Regions from separate parts of the Homo sapiens genome. Here regions 2 and 3 are each linked to region 1. Evidence: promoter capture Hi-C in 16 types of primary human blood cells and fetal thymus (Javierre and others, 2016). All regions are on one chromosome and are shown on one strand. Each heading gives the region's core, a stretch centred on a gene start or on the middle of the fragment in contact. The rest is flanking DNA. Distances are from core to core; before and after follow the strand shown.

The links. Contacts are between HindIII fragments. The CHiCAGO score rates a contact against its expected background, and 5 or more counts as called.
Region 2: a fragment that was not itself captured here is called in contact with the fragment with the promoter of C1QA in region 1 in 2 of 17 cell types (monocytes and endothelial precursors); the score reaches 5.2 in monocytes.
Region 3: a contact is called between a fragment that was not itself captured here and the fragment with the promoter of C1QA in region 1, in 1 of 17 cell types (endothelial precursors). The highest score is 5.2, in endothelial precursors.

What each region holds. Positions count from the first base shown.
Region 1 is chr1:22,632,920-22,637,877 of GRCh38, forward strand. It overlaps C1QA (complement C1q A chain), which reads left to right and starts at 3,709. Exons shown (of 3, transcript NM_015991.4): 1 at 3,709-3,783; 2 at 4,691-4,860. The coding sequence starts at 4,698. MIR6127 (microRNA 6127) reads right to left here and starts at 447; the gene lies at 339-447. The HindIII fragment of the contact is 10,061 bases long and covers 3,372-4,958 here.
Region 2 is chr1:22,388,947-22,393,904 of GRCh38, forward strand. No RefSeq gene overlaps it. Among named protein-coding and RNA genes, the nearest start is that of ZBTB40, 60 kb to the right of the region's middle. RefSeq lists enhancers at 1,095-1,595, 1,596-2,096. The HindIII fragment of the contact is 7,111 bases long and covers 1-4,958 here.
Region 3 is chr1:22,438,595-22,443,552 of GRCh38, forward strand. It overlaps a transcript of ZBTB40 not described here. Among named protein-coding and RNA genes, the nearest start is that of ZBTB40, 11 kb to the right of the region's middle. RefSeq lists enhancers at 4,290-4,907, 4,908-4,958. The HindIII fragment of the contact is 4,043 bases long and covers 837-4,879 here.

The DNA.
Region 1 (4,958 bases), core at 2,459-4,958:
AAAAAAAAAAAAAAAAAGAAGAAGAAGAAGAAGAAGAAGATGGATACTGGGCTGGGCGCGGTGGCTCACGCCTGTAATCCCAGCACTTTGGGAGGCCGAGATGGACAGATCACCTGAGGTCAGGAGTTTGAGACCAGCCTGGGCAACATGGCAAAACCCCGTCTCTACTAAAAATACAAAAATTAGCTGGGCATGGTGGTGCATGCGTGCCTGTAATCCCAGCTACTTGGAAGGCTGAGGCAGGAGAATCTCTTGAACCCAGGAGGCAGAGGTTGCAGTGAGCTGAGATCCAGCCACTACACTCCCACCTGGGCAAAAAAATGAGACTCTGTCTCAAAAGAAGAAGAAGGAGGAGGAGGAGGAGGAGACTGGAAGGGATGTTAGAGGCCATTTGGGGCAGCCTTCCCACCTCCCACCCACTCCCTCATCTTGGTAGATGGAGAAAGTGGGGTTCAGAAAGATGAGATAACTTGCCCAGGGTCACACTGTGAGTTAGGTATGGGCTGAGCAGATGAGATTCCAGCTCCACGAACTTTCTGAATCCAGGGAGCATGGGAGGGGCTGTCAGGGGGAGCTCTGGGCCCCCACCCTTCAAGCCAGTATCCCCATTTTTATCTGTTTGACATACATCAGATGCCACACAAGATTGCAAATGAAAAAGAAGTCCCCAAAGCTCAAAAACCCTGGCTCTAGACCATCCTTCATCTGCCCACTTCAACAGCCTTCCCTTATCTCCTCCCTCCTCCTCCTCTTTTCCTCCTCCTGCCTCTGGCAAAATTTTCAGAAAACAAACAAACAAACAAAAACATGCTCATGAGAAGAAGCAGACAGATGTGGTCAGCCCAGGCCTGAACACATTGGTCTCCAGTCTGGGAGAGACAGAGCCTCTCTATCTAAAGAAAAGCATTCTCAGGGTCCAAGCTGACAATGATGCAGTGTGCCGTGCTGACAGGTAATGAGCATCCCATCAGTTAAGGTGAGTAAGGCTAGATGATCTGTTCAAACACTAGCAGCAATTGTCTCTAGATGGTAGAATTCACAGGCTTTTGTTGCTGGGTTTTGTTTTTTGTTTTTTTTTGAGATGGTGTTACAGGATCTTTGGGGTGTCATTTTCTGGCCGGAAACCTCTGTGGCTGGTGGCACCTTTGCCCAAGTTTTGCTCAGGCCCACTGGGCTTGTTTCACTCACTCCTCCTGGCAGGCAGCACTCAGCTCACATTACCAGCCTGGGTTCCACATCTGCCCAGGGCAAGTCAGGCATGGAACAGTGAAGGGTGTGTGAGTGAACATGGGGTCTGGCCACTGCACACAGTCAGACATGCCGGCTGCTGCAGCGGGGTGAGCAGCTCCAGGTGCCAGCATGGGCGCCAGCTCTCTGAGAGGTTGTGGCTAGACCAAGTACACCACAAGCAGCTTCCACAGCTGGCACCGGGGAACACGGTGGCACCCAGAAGCTTCGAGATGCCAGGAACCACAGGGCCCCGAAAAGGGAGTCACAGCTCCAGCTTGGGGAGCTCCCAGGTCTGGGTTCCCCAGAGGGCCGCAGCTCTTCTTTCCTTCCCTTCACCTGCATCATGGCAAGCAAGGGGCATGTTTCAGCCTTGTTTGTGTTACAGCTCTTTCAGCCCCACCATTTGATGGGTCCCAAGTTCTTATCCTGCAACCAGGAAGAATGAGGTATGCAGACAAGTGGGGAGTGAGCAAGACGAAGAGGAGCTTTACTGAGCGATAGAACAGCTCAGCCTCCTGCAGAGCCTCCCTCAGGGGGCAGCTCCTTTCCACAGCCAGGGTGTCCTGATGAGTGTTCAGCTGCTAGCAGAGAGGAGACCCTGGAATGGGAAGCTCCTCTCTGCAGGCAGGTCATCCTGTCGACTTTCCAGCTCTCAGAAGAGGGAAGACCCTGGAATGGGAAGCTCCTTTCTGCAGGCAAGTTGTTCTGCCATCTCTGCAGCTCTCAGCAGAGAGGAGGCCCTGGAGCGGGTAGCTCCTCTCGGCAGCTGGTCATCCAATGTCTGCCCAGCTCTGGCTGAGCCTGAAGCTTTCATGAGCCTCAGAGAGGAGGAAGTGCATACTGATTGGTCCATGGGTGGCTATAGGCAAGCCCAGAAAATACACCATAAGTTCCCACTCTGGTGTGTGGGACTGGCAGCCTGGCCCCCAGCCTTGAGGCCCTCCCTGGCTTGAAGGTAGGGCCTCACCAGGGACCCATCCCCTTCCACCCAGGAGCCTGTCTGTCTCCTGCTGCTGTTCATGGTGCCCAGGCTGTTCATGCCAAGGAGCGTCTGCAGGCCAGTGCCGAGCTGCCCTCAGTTTCCCCTTGGCTTTCCTTCCATGCTAGTCAGTGCCCAAAGTCCAGAGGGGGCCAAGGCAGCAGGGGTCTAGTGTGTCAGCACTGCCCCAAGCATGCCCACACCCAGCCAGGCTGCGACAGCACCCAGGCTCAGCACCAACTTTGCTCTAAGATCAGAGTGGGCGCCAAGAGGAGGGAGAAGCCAGGCAGTGGGAGCAGACACTTCTGAGCCTGAAGGGTGGGGCGGGGGGCCTTCCCGGGCCCCCAAGATTGCAGGGATGCCTGGGTCCACAGCTGCAGTTTAGGCAGCTGCAGCTGCATGGGGGATGGCGGGGGCCCCCACCTGCTCCATGAAGCAGGATCAGCTGTGGTTTGGCAGCTGCAGTGGTTCCCAGGAGGGCGGGGTTCCCACTGTCCCCAGCTCCCACTGGCTACATGGAGCATGCAGCCCTGGCCGTGCCTCCCTGCTGCAGCCAGTGTGATGACAGCAGCCATTCCAGACGGCCCGCCATTGCCATCTCTTTTTTTTTTTTTTTTTTTTGAGATGGGGTCTTGTTCTGTCTCCCAGGCAGGAGTGCAGTGGTAAGATCAAAGCTCACTGCAGCCTCAACCTCCTGGGCTCTAGCAATCCTCCCAGCTCAGCCTCCCAAATAGCTGGGACTACACAGGTGCATGCTACCACACCTGGCTATTTTTTAAATTTTTAGTAGAGATGGAGTTTCACCATGTTGGCCAGGCTGGTCTCGAACTCCTGACCTCAAGTGATCCGCCTGCCTTGACCTCCCAAAATGCTGGGATTACAGGCGTGAGCCAAAGCACCTAGACTTGCTGTTTTTTTAAATGTTGGCAAAAGCTAGTGACTAAGTGTTCACCATGTGCCAAGTGTTTTGTATGTGCAAGTCATTAAAATGTTATAATAATCAGATGATATAGGACCCCGTTCCCAGTGTACAGATAAAACTGAGGGCTCAGGAGGTCAAGTAATTTCCCAAAGACATGCAACTAGGAAGCAGCAAGTCTAGAAACAGATTGCTGTGCTTCCTTCTCACCAATGCACTGTTCTTTCTTCTTTGTATTTTCCAAGCTTTTGGCAATGAATTGCATGTCACTTTCATAATCATGAAAAGTCCTACAAGGGACAGATTTTTTTAAAGATTCCTTCCGCTCTGGTGTTCTGTGCTTCGCTGGTTCTCAGAACCTCACCCTGCACGGCCTCCACCCCACATCCTCACAGGCACTGGCCTCACTGCCCCCACTCCCACACCAGCTGTTGCTGGGGCAGGACGCCCAATGTCCCAGTCTTGCTGAAGTCTGCTTGAAATGTCCCTGGTGAGCTTCTGGCCACTGGGGAAGTTCAGGGGGCAGGTCTGAAGAAGGGGAAGTAGGAAGGGATGTGAAACTTGGCCACAGCCTGGAGCCACTCCTGCTGGGCAGCCCACAGGGTCCCTGGGCGGAGGGCAGGAGCATCCAGTTGGAGTTGACAACAGGAGGCAGGTGAGGCCAGAGTCCCAGAGGGAGGGGGCTGCAGAGTTCTGGGACCCAGGGGAGCTGGCCCAGGAGGCTGGGCAGCTGAGGCAGGGAGGGAGGGAAATAACTGTGCCTGATTCTAGGACAGGGATGGGGGTGCAGCACTGATCCAGGACCCAGAATGGGTGAGTGGAGGGACCTTAACTCCTTGAGCCAGGGCTTGGGGGAGGGTGAGAGGCGATGAGTTAGACCTAACAACTGAAGGGTAAGACCAGGGTTCCTGGGTCCTGGCCCCATAACACATAAGAAACCAGGAAAAGCCTGGGGTGCTAGAGCTGGCAGTGGGACCCAGCAGAGGGGACTGTAGGGGCAGCCAGTCACCCATGCTCAGGTGGATGCTGAAAGGCGCTGAGCATGCAGAAGAGTGAGCAGGTGTCGCTTTGGGCGTTTGTGAATTCCTGTGTGTATGCAGAGCTCCACCATCTGGGTGAGCCAGTGTTAATTAAATAAGGAGCAGGCGCTCAATACATATTTGTTCAATGAAATCGATTACCTGTGGGAGTGTATGAATGTGTGTGTCCGTGCAAGTGAGGGACAGGGTCTATTTGGGTATCAGTTGTGTGTCTAGGGGGGTATAGTGGATTTCTGAGTTTGCCTACTGTGTTTTGTAGGTGCGTGGATGAGAGCTGTGTTTGTGTGAGTGTGTGAAGATGTGGGTGTGCTCTGTTGCATGTGTGGATGTGTGTGAGTTTGTGGTTCTGTGTATATGCGTGGGGTCCTGGGGCTGGATTGAGAGTGGACATTGAGAGCCCCAGAGGGTGCATGTGCACTTGGGGAGGACTGTGCATATATCATTGTGTGCATGGGACTCAAGGGTGGGAGCTGGGTGTGAGTGTGATGTCCAACCTGCCCAGGCCCTCCCGTGTCTCCACAGAGGCATCATGGAGGGTCCCCGGGGATGGCTGGTGCTCTGTGTGCTGGCCATATCGCTGGCCTCTATGGTGACCGAGGACTTGTGCCGAGCACCAGACGGGAAGAAAGGGGAGGCAGGAAGACCTGGCAGACGGGGGCGGCCAGGCCTCAAGGGGGAGCAAGGGGAGCCGGGTAAGCACCCTTCCTCGGGACCCAGCCCCTTGGACCTTGGCCTGACTTGGCCTCCAGGGTGAAGGCTTGGGGTGGCACTGAGAATCAGGAGTCCGTCT
Region 2 (4,958 bases), core at 982-3,481, 250 kb before region 1:
GAGTGCTGAGCTTGGAGCCTGAGAACTTGGATCCCTCTTTCGGGAAAGGAACGTGTTTTGACGTGCTCATCCATACTCAGGTATGTTATACATCCCAAGGGGCTTATATTTAAAGAGTGGAACTGAGATAAGGCCATAATATCCTCCAAAAGAATGAAGTATTAATAGTGGAATTTCAGGCATCCACAAAGGAGATAATTTGGTGGGTGGGTGGCCCCCAATCACGCCCTGTCATTGATTGCCTCCTCTAAGGGCCAGGGAATGCAACAAGCATCGTCCGCCTAGGAGGTGCCAAGCGTTCTGCGTGGGGCTGTGAGTCACTGGCTGGTCCAATTGAGATCTGGCGGGGAGGTGGAGAAGTGTGTCCACCCTGCAGGCAGACAAGTCCCTGGGGACAAAGCAGTGTCTGTGGGAGCAGAGGGAGGGCCTGGCCATCCGTGTCATGGAAGGAGGAGGCTGTCAGCAGCCCCGTTTTTGTGCCTGGGTTGGGGCTGGAGCCGCTTCTCTGGGCTGGCAGGAGCCTGAGAAGGAGCTGGCAGAGAAGTCCTGAGGGCCCCAGACTGGGCTGCTCTGAATGAATCCAGCTCCCTGCCATTGACCTGGGGTGCACCAGGCTTACCAGTTGCCCCCTCTCATAGCCAGAGATGCATCGGCACCAGGGTCTACCTCATAAAAGGGCAGAGGCAGCTACGCTGGCACAGACACCACCTGGCACAGAGTTTCTCAGGAGACAGCTGAAACCTCAGGGACATATGTTAATAATGCAGACTCCTGGGTCTGTCCCAAACCAAAGGGAGCCCTGGGGAGACTGGAGCTGGGATCTGCATTGCTAATAACTTCTCCAGAAGAGTCTTTTTTTTTTTTTTTTGAGACGGAGTCTTGCTCAGTCACCCAGGCTGGAGTGCAGTGGAGCGTTCTTGGCTCACTGCAAGCTCCGCCTCCCGGGTTCACGCCGTTCTCCTGCCTCAGCCTCCCGAGTAGCTGGGACTACAGGCACCCGCCACCACACCCAGCTAATTTTTTTTTTTTATTTTTAGTAGAGACGGGGTTTCACCATGTCAGCCAGGATGGTCTCAATTTCCTGACCTCGTGATCCACCCACCTCAGCCTCCCAAAGTGCTGGGATTACAGGCGTGAGCCACCGCGCCAGGCCCAGAAGAGTCTTATGTGCTGCCTAAGCCACTCGCAAAGTCCACTTTCATATCTTTGTCCCTAGGACCCAGGCACAGTGGAAGCTGGCAGAGGTGAGACCTCCCCACATTCACTTGGCTCAGCCCAGAGGTGGGGCAGAGGCTGCAGGTCTCCTCTGCTGGATGGGCCTCCTGTCCTAACGAGCCATCCACCTGTGCCCAGGTACACCAGACACATGGCCCAGCCTCTTACATAATCCTAGCCCCTGCTCTGTGAGGCGGAACTGTTACTTTCCCCCTCTTTCTGATGAGGAAACAAGGCCCAGAGAAGTGAAGTCAGCAGCCCAGGATAGGTCAGCAGGAGCCGGGGCCAGGCTGCAAAACTGCTTCTTCTGAATCTGTAGCCTAAGCACAGAACCACAGTGCCCAGCTACCACCTGCAGGGGGTGGAGTCCTGCCTCCACCTTCCGGCCACCCATCCTTTGCCCTGGGTCTGGACCCTGGCATTGGTGGTGGCCATCGGCGCCGACCCATGGCTTGTCATTGTATCCAACACTGAAAACCTACTACCAGCCCTGCTTGGATCAGAGCCTTTAAGTGTAGCCCTTAACAGAAGTCAGTTAATCCCCCTTCCTGCCCCAACACACACACACGTGCATACACACAGGGTTGGCTCTGCCCTCCCTAGGGGTCTCTCCAGCCTCCACCTCCCTCCCCTAACCCCATCCATGCTCTCCGGAAGTTCCCAGCAATCCAGTTGGGACACAGTGAAATAAGCCCCAACCTCTCCGAGGTAGAAAAGGTGGTGCTTGGGCATGAAAATCCCCCTTAGCAGTTATAGAATTTAAAGCTAAGCATCGCCTTTCTTGAAATAGCAAGCATGTAGCTTTTCCCCGTGCATCTGGTGATGGTGTCAGAAACATTAGGGACAGCTTCTATTTGGCCACAGTCGAGCCAACCCTAGACAGTGGTGACCAGGGAGGCCCTGAGAGGCCATTGCAGCCAACGCCTTCATTAACAGATGTTGAGGCTAATGTCCAGTGATGGTCAGGGATTTACCCCAAGTCATATGATGGCATCTAGCTAGGGTTGGAAGCCCACTCCCTCTAGTCCCAGTCCAGCACTCCAGAAGCAGCAAACAGTCTTTGGGACCTCCAGCACAGAGCCCCCTTCCTCAGAACTGCTCCCCCTGCCCAGTGGACAGCTCCAGATGCTGCTCTTCCTGTCCTATCTGTGGCTGTTCACGTTCATGGCTGCTGCCCCCACACCACTCTCTTGCCAGCCCTGTAACCAAACTAAACATTTCTCCATACTTCATTTCATCACCAAATAATAAAAGCAGGCTTATTCCCCCACAATGGAAGTGTTAATTTATTCTCTATCTTGCAGGCCAGCTCAGCCAACATGACCAGGCCAAGCTGAACATGGGAGGCCAGGTGGGCAGCAGCTTTCCAGAGAGCCCAGGGACCAAGGTGTCTTAGCTCTCGGCAGGAGTGCTGGTCTCCATCTCAGCCAACAGCGCAGGAGAGAAGCAGCTCAAACTCCTTCCCTGGTTGGACCAGGGCCAGTAGGCCCTTGTCCTGACAGTCCTCTGGCTGGAAGGCATAGCTTCTCCACGAGGCTGGGATGGGAGGCCCGTCCCAAAGCACCAAATAAAGAGTAATAATAAGCTCACGGTCGGGGGAAAAACCTCTCTAGCAGCCTGGCGCTGCTGGCTGAGCTGCTTCCAGCCCTAGTGGCCCAGATCCCAGGGCTGGCGCTCACCTAATGAGCTGGGCATTGCAAAGCTGGGCTCCCCCACCACCTGTGTTGAGATGAATCATCCATTGCGGGTATCTCCATCTTCTGCATCTCTCCTCACACCCACATTGACCCCAGAATCTGGATTGTCATTACCTGTGGCCTTCTACACCAGTGAGGAGCAGGATAACACACTGGTTAAGAGCTAGACTTGGGGCCGGGCGCGGTGGCTCACGCTTGTAACCCAGCACTTTGGGAGGCCGAGGCGGGCGGATCACGAGGTCAGGAGATCAAGACCACGGTGAAACCCCATCTCTACTAAAAATACAAAAAATTAGCCGGGCGTGGTGGCGGGCACCTGTAGTCCCAGCTACTCGGGAGGCTGAGGCAGGGGAATCACTTGAACCTGGGAGGCGCAGGTTGCAGTGAGCCGAGATCGTGCCGCTGCACTCCGCCTGGGCCATAGAGCGAGACTCTGTCGCAAAAAAAAAGGAGCTAGACTTGGAGTCGGCTCCATCCTTTCCTGGCTGTGTGACCTGGGGCAAGTTACTTAACCTCTCTAAGCCTCTCTTTCCTCGGTCAGTAAGATGGGGTAAGAATCATGCCTTCCTCTTTCAAAGAGTGGCTGTAAAGATGAATGAGCTAATAATTTAAAATGCTTAACCCAATGCTGGGCACAGAGTCCAGACAAACAGTGGTGATTAACAACCAATAATACTTGTAGCAGGTGCGTAAGAAAAGTTGTGGAGAGGTGAGTACGGTGGCTCAGCCTGTCTGTAATCCCAGCAACTCTGGAGGCTTAGGTGGGAGGATCACTTGAACCCAGGAGTTGCAGGCTACAGTGATCGTTCCTCTGCACTCCAGCCTGGGCACAGGGCAAGACTCTAACTTTTTTTTTTTTGAGATGGAATCTCGCTCTGTCACTTAGGCTGGAGTGCAGTGGCCAGATCTCGGCTCACTGCAACCTCCGCCTCTTGGGTTCAAGCGATTCTTCTGCCTCAGCCTCCAGAGTAGCTGGGATTATAGGCACCCGCCACCATGCCTGGCTAATTTTTTTTTTTTTTGTATTTTTAGTAGAGACAGGGTTTCACCATGTTGGCCAGGCTGGTCTCGAACTCCTGACCTCGTGATCCGCCCGCCTCAGCCTCCCAAAGTGGAGACTCTGACTTAAAAAAAAAATCGTGGAATGTGGAAGAAGGAGCAATGCCCAGGGCCCAGAGAAGCCAGGCAGGCATCCTTAGAGGCTGTGGGGACAGTCAAACAGGGGCCTGGGCCTGCACAGAGCTGTGGGATGTTCTGGGCGTGCAATGAACCCAAGGCAAGGAGGCAAGAGCTGGAGGGACAAGGGCTCTGCAGCCAGGAGCAAGCTGACGGCTGGGAGCCAGGAAGGTGGGTTGAGCATCAGACTGAGGACCAGGCAAACAGGGTGGGGGTCAGGAGTCCAGCAGGCCAAGGACACAGAACTCAGCAGAATGATGGATTCTAATCCCCGAGTGGGGGCGCTTGCCTTCCATTCTGTTTTAGTGCTTCCTTCTCCAGGAGGGGGTAGGCTAAGGACGTGGATAATTGCAGTGGTCACTGGGGTTACTTCCCCTTCCCCACTACAACGGTCCAGTCCCAGGAAGTGGGACTGATCCCACTCCTATCTCCAGGATAACCAATCAGGGTAATCGGGATTCCCCTACCATCCACAGCAATTGTCCATCAGAGATGGTCTTCTCAGAGCATAGCTCAGAATACCTGTTTCATGGGTATGGGAAGAGTGGTTTCTTTCTCCCAAAAGGGGAAAAAGGAATTGTATCACCCTGGTTTCTGCTGGCAGCATTCCTGTGATTATCAAATAAGCCATTTTAAGGAGTAAGCATGGAAGGCAGAGCATAGAGAAACAGAGAAACAAAGGTCAAGTCCTGATAAAACTATGCCTAAAGCCCACACAGAGTACCTTCAGTCCTTTACTACACAAGGCAATAAATCTCAGAGCTATTAATAGTTTGAGTTGGTGCAGCAGGCGGAATAATGCCACCCCCAAAGATGTCCGTGCACTATCTCTAGAAACTGTGGATACAGGCCAGGCATGGTGGCTCACGT
Region 3 (4,958 bases), core at 1,608-4,107, 200 kb before region 1:
ATCCTGTTTTCCACAGCAAGTGTACTGTTTTACACTACCAACAGTGCACAAGGATTCCCGTTTTTCCACAACCTTGCCAACACTTACTAGTTTCTGGTTTTTTGTTTTATAGCAGCTGTCCTAATGAGTGTTGACACGGTATCTCATTGAAGTTTTGATTTGCATTTTCCTAATGATTATTAATGTTGAGCATCTTTTCATGTGCTTATTGGCCATTTGTGTATCTTCTTTAGAGAAATATTCTTTTGCCCATTTTTTATTTCATTTTATTTATTTATTTATTTATTTTTTGAGACAGAGTCTTGCTCTGTTGCCCAAGCTGGAGTGCAGTGGCATGATCTCGGCTCACTGCAACCTCCGCCTCCCAGGTTCAAGTGCTTCTTCTGCCTCAGCCTCCCGATTAGCTGGGACCACAGGTGCCCACCACCACGTCCAGCTAATTTTTGTATTTTTAGTAGAGACAGGGTTTCACCATATTGGCCAGGCTGGTCTCGAACTCCTGACCTTGTTATCCACCCGCCTTGGCCCCCCAAAGTGTTGGGATTACAGGCGTGAGCCACCATGCCTGGCCTGCGTCTTTTGCCTATTTTTAAATTGGGACTTATTTTTGTTGTTGAGTTTTAAGAGTTCTCTGTATGTTACAGATATTAAGCCTTTATCTGATATATGATTTATAAATGTTTTCTTTCATTCCATGGGTTTCCCTATTACTATGTTTATTTTTTTCATGCACAAAATTTTTAATATTTTGTGAAGTCCAATTTGTCCATTTTTTCTTTTATTGTCTGTGCCTTTGCCATCATATTCAAGAAACCATTACCAAATCAATGTTGCAAAGCTTTTGCTTCATGTTTTCTTCTAAGAGTTTTATAGTTTAGGTCTTACATTTATGTGTTCAATTCATTTTGAATTAATTTTTGTATACGGTGTTAAATAAGGGTCCAACTTTATTCTTTCATATGTAGTTTTCCCAGCACCATTTGCTGAAAAGAAACTATTCTTTCCTCATTGAATGGCCTTGGTGTCTTTGTCAAAAATTATTTGACCATATATGGGGAACATTTATTTCTAAGCTCTTTATTCTACTCCATTAGTGTTTGTGTCTTTCTTTATGCCAGTACCACACTGTTTTGATTACTGTAGCTCTGTAGTAAGTTTTGAAATGAGGAAGCATGAGTCCTCCAGCATTGTTCTTTTTTAAGATTGTTTTGGCTATTTGGAGACCATTAATATTCCATATAAATGTTAGAATGTGTTCTTTTTCTATTCTTGCAAAAAATGTCATTGGTGTTTTGTATTGAATCCATAGATAGCTTTTGGTAATATTAACATCTTAGCAATACTAAGCCTTCCAATCCATTAACATGGGACGTGTTTCCATTTATTTATGTCTTCTTTAATTTCTTTCAGTAATGTTTTATAGTATCCATTGTAAAGTCTTTCACCTCCTTGGTTAATTCCAAATTATTTTATTCTCTTTGACACTATTGTAAATGGAACTGTTTTTGTAATTTCCTTTTCAGATGTTCATTGTTAATATATAGAAATACAACTGATTTTTGTGTGTTGACTTTGTATCCTGCCACTTTGTTAAATTCATTTATTAGCTCTAACAGGTTTTTTTGGTGGAATCTTTACGGTTTTCTATATGTAAGATTATATCATCTGCAAATAGAGGTAATTTTACTTCTTCCTTTCCAATTTGAATGCCTTTTATTTTTTTCTTCTTGCCTAATTGCTCTGACTAAAACTTCTAATACTAAGCTGGATGAGGTGGCATGCCTGTAGTCCCAGCTATGTGGGAGGCTGAGGCAAGTGAATTGCTTGAGCCCAGAAGTTTGAGTCCAGCCTGGGAAAAATAGCAAGAGCCCGGTCTCCAAAACACAAACAAAACAAGTAAAACTTCTAATACTATTTTGAACAAAAGTGGTAAAAGTGGAGATCCTTGTCTTGTTCCTGATCCTAAGGAAGAGCTTTCAGTCTTTCACCACTGAGTATGAGGTTTGCTGTGCATTTTTTATATATGGCTTTTATTGTGTTGAGGTAGTTCCTTTCATTCCTAGCTTGTTGAGTGTTTTTTTTTTAATCATGAAAGGGTGTTATGTTTTGTCAAATGCTTTTTTAGATGATCAACTGAGATAATCATGTGGTTTTCTTTCCTTCATTCTGTTAATGTGGTATATTACATTGAGCTTTGTATGTTGAACCATCCTTGCATTCCAGGAGTAAATCTCACTTGGTCATTGTGTATAATCCTTTTACTATGCTGCTGAATTTGGTTTGCTAGTATTTTGAGAAATATTTTTATATTAATGTTCATAATGGATATTAGTCTATAGTTTTCTTTTTCTTGTAGTGCCCTTGTCTGGCTTTGGTATCAGGGTAATGCTGGCTTCATAGAATGAGTTGGGAAGTGTTTCCTCCTCCTCAATTTTTTGGAAAATTCTGAAAATAATTGGTATTAGTTGTTCTTTTCATGTTTGGTAAATTCACCTGTAAAGCCATTTGGTCCAGGGCTTTTCTTTGTCAGGATATTTTTGATTACTGATTCAATCGCCTTACTGATTATAGGTGTGTTCAGATTTTCTATTTCTTTGTGATTTCATCTTGGTAGGTTTTGTGTTTCTGGGAATTTATACATTTCATCTAGGTTATCCAATTTGTTGGTATACAATTGTTTGTAGTACTCTCTTATACTCCATTTTATTTCTCTAGAATTAGTAGTAATGTCCTTGAGTCTCCTCTTTTATTCTTAGTCTGTCTAGCTAAAGATTTGTCAATTTTGTTCTTTTCAAAGAACCAAGTTTCAGTTTATTTTTTCCTATTGTTTTTCTGTTCTCTCTTGTTTCTCTCTGCTTCAGTCTTTATTATTTGCTTTCTTTTTTTTTTTTTTTTTTTTTTGAGACAGAGTCTCATTCTGTCACCCAGGTTGGAGTGCAGTGCAGTGGCATGATCTCAGCTCACTGCAACCTCCACCTCCTGTGTTCAAGTGATTCTCCTACCTCAGCCTCCCAAGTAGCTGAGATTACAGGCCTAAACCACTGCACCCGGCTAATTTTTGTATTTTTGGTAGAGACAGGGTTTCACCATGTTGGCCAGGCTGGTCTCAAACTCCTGACCTCAGATGATCTGCCCACCTCACCCTCCCAAAATGCTGGCATTACAGACATGAGCCACTGTGCCTGGCCATTATTATTTGCTTTCTTTGCTAGCTTTGAGTTTAGTTTGTTCTTCTTTTTCTAGTTCCTAAAGTTGTGAAGGTAAGTTGTTGATTTTAGATCTTTCTTGTTTTTTAATGTAAGCATTTATACACATAAATTTACCTCTTAACAACTGCTTTTTCTACATTACACAAGTTTGGGTATATTGTGTTTTCATTTTCATTCTTCTCTAAGTATTTTTTAATTTCTCTTCTAATGTTTTCTTTGATTCATTGGTTGTTTAAGAATGCGTTGTTTAATCTCCACAAATTTGTGCATTTTCCACTTTTACTTCTATTAGTGACTTCTAACTTCATTCCATTATGGTAGGAGAAGATACTTTATATGATCTTTATCTTTTTAAGTCTATTGAGACTTACTTTTTGGCCTAACATATAATCTATCCTGGAAAATGTCTCATGTGCACATGAGAAGAATGTGTGTGCAGTGGTGTGTAGACTGTTCTGTATATTTCTGTTAGATCTGTAAGGTTAGCCGAGAGAAAGGACAAGAGAGAGAGAGACCCAAGGTCAGGCAAGAAAGTTTATTAACCTGCTGGGCTGCTCTGCCACAGTCAGAGGAGGCAGCCCTGAGCTTACAAAATGATGGGTTTATATGGGGGAGAGAGACCCTGGGGTTGTTTGTCGCCACAGTCAGAGGAGGCAGCCCTGAGCTTACAAAATGATGGGTTTATATGGGGGAGAGAGACCCTGGGGTTGTTTGTCGGTTAACTTTACCACATATCATCTTGAGAACTGCTTACAATATAGGAATTTATAAGAGGGTGTAACTTAGGTTTATCCATGTTTCTTGTGACCTCCCCCATGCCACCCGGAGGGCTGTAAGCAAGTCTGGTGACCTTGCTGTAGCACCTAGATAAAGGTCCAGGAATGCAGCTGCAGAGTATTCAGGGTAAGGGTCAGCTGCATTGGGTGGAGGTGGGGAGTCCTGGGGCAGCTTGTCCCTAACAAGATCTAGTTGGTTTATTGTGTTCTTATCTCCTATATGGTTGTTCTATCCATTGTTGAGAGTGGGGTAGCAAAGTCTCCAACTGTATTGAAGAACTATATCATTCTCCCTTCAATTCCGTCCATTTTTGCTTTACATATTTTGATGGTGTGTAAGTGGGTGCATAAATATTTATAATTACTACATCTTCCAGTTGTATTTAATCTGAAGGCTCCCACACTTTTGTGAGTTTTACCTCCTGGAGCTCTGGCCAGGTTCTCAGAGTGAATATCTGAGAAAAATCTCCTGATGCTTCCAACAGGGGAAGAAGAAAAAATAATCATTTCAAAATACTCCAGAACGTTACGTTCTCTCTCGAACAAAGTCTCAACGAAAATTATTTAAACAGAATCTAACCTGCTGGGGTTTTTTGATTAAAAAAGCCAAATACTATAAAATATATAAAGAGGTTTTTCTGAGCCAAATATGAGTGACCATGGCCCGGGGTAGTCTCAAAAGGTCCTCAGAACATGTGCCCAAGGTGATCAGATTACAGTTTGGTTTATTCATTTTAGGGAGACAGAAGCCACAGGCAAAGACATAAATCAATATATGTAAGATATACATTATTTCAGCCCAGAAAGGCAGAACATCTCAAAGCAGGGGCAAGGGCCTTACAGGTGATAGGTGGATTCAAAGAGTTTCTGGTTAGCAATTGGTTGAAAGAGTTAAGCTTTATCTAAAGAGTTGAAGTCAGCAGAAAGAAATGCTTGAGTTAAGATAAGAGTAGTTGTTCTTGTTATGCACATG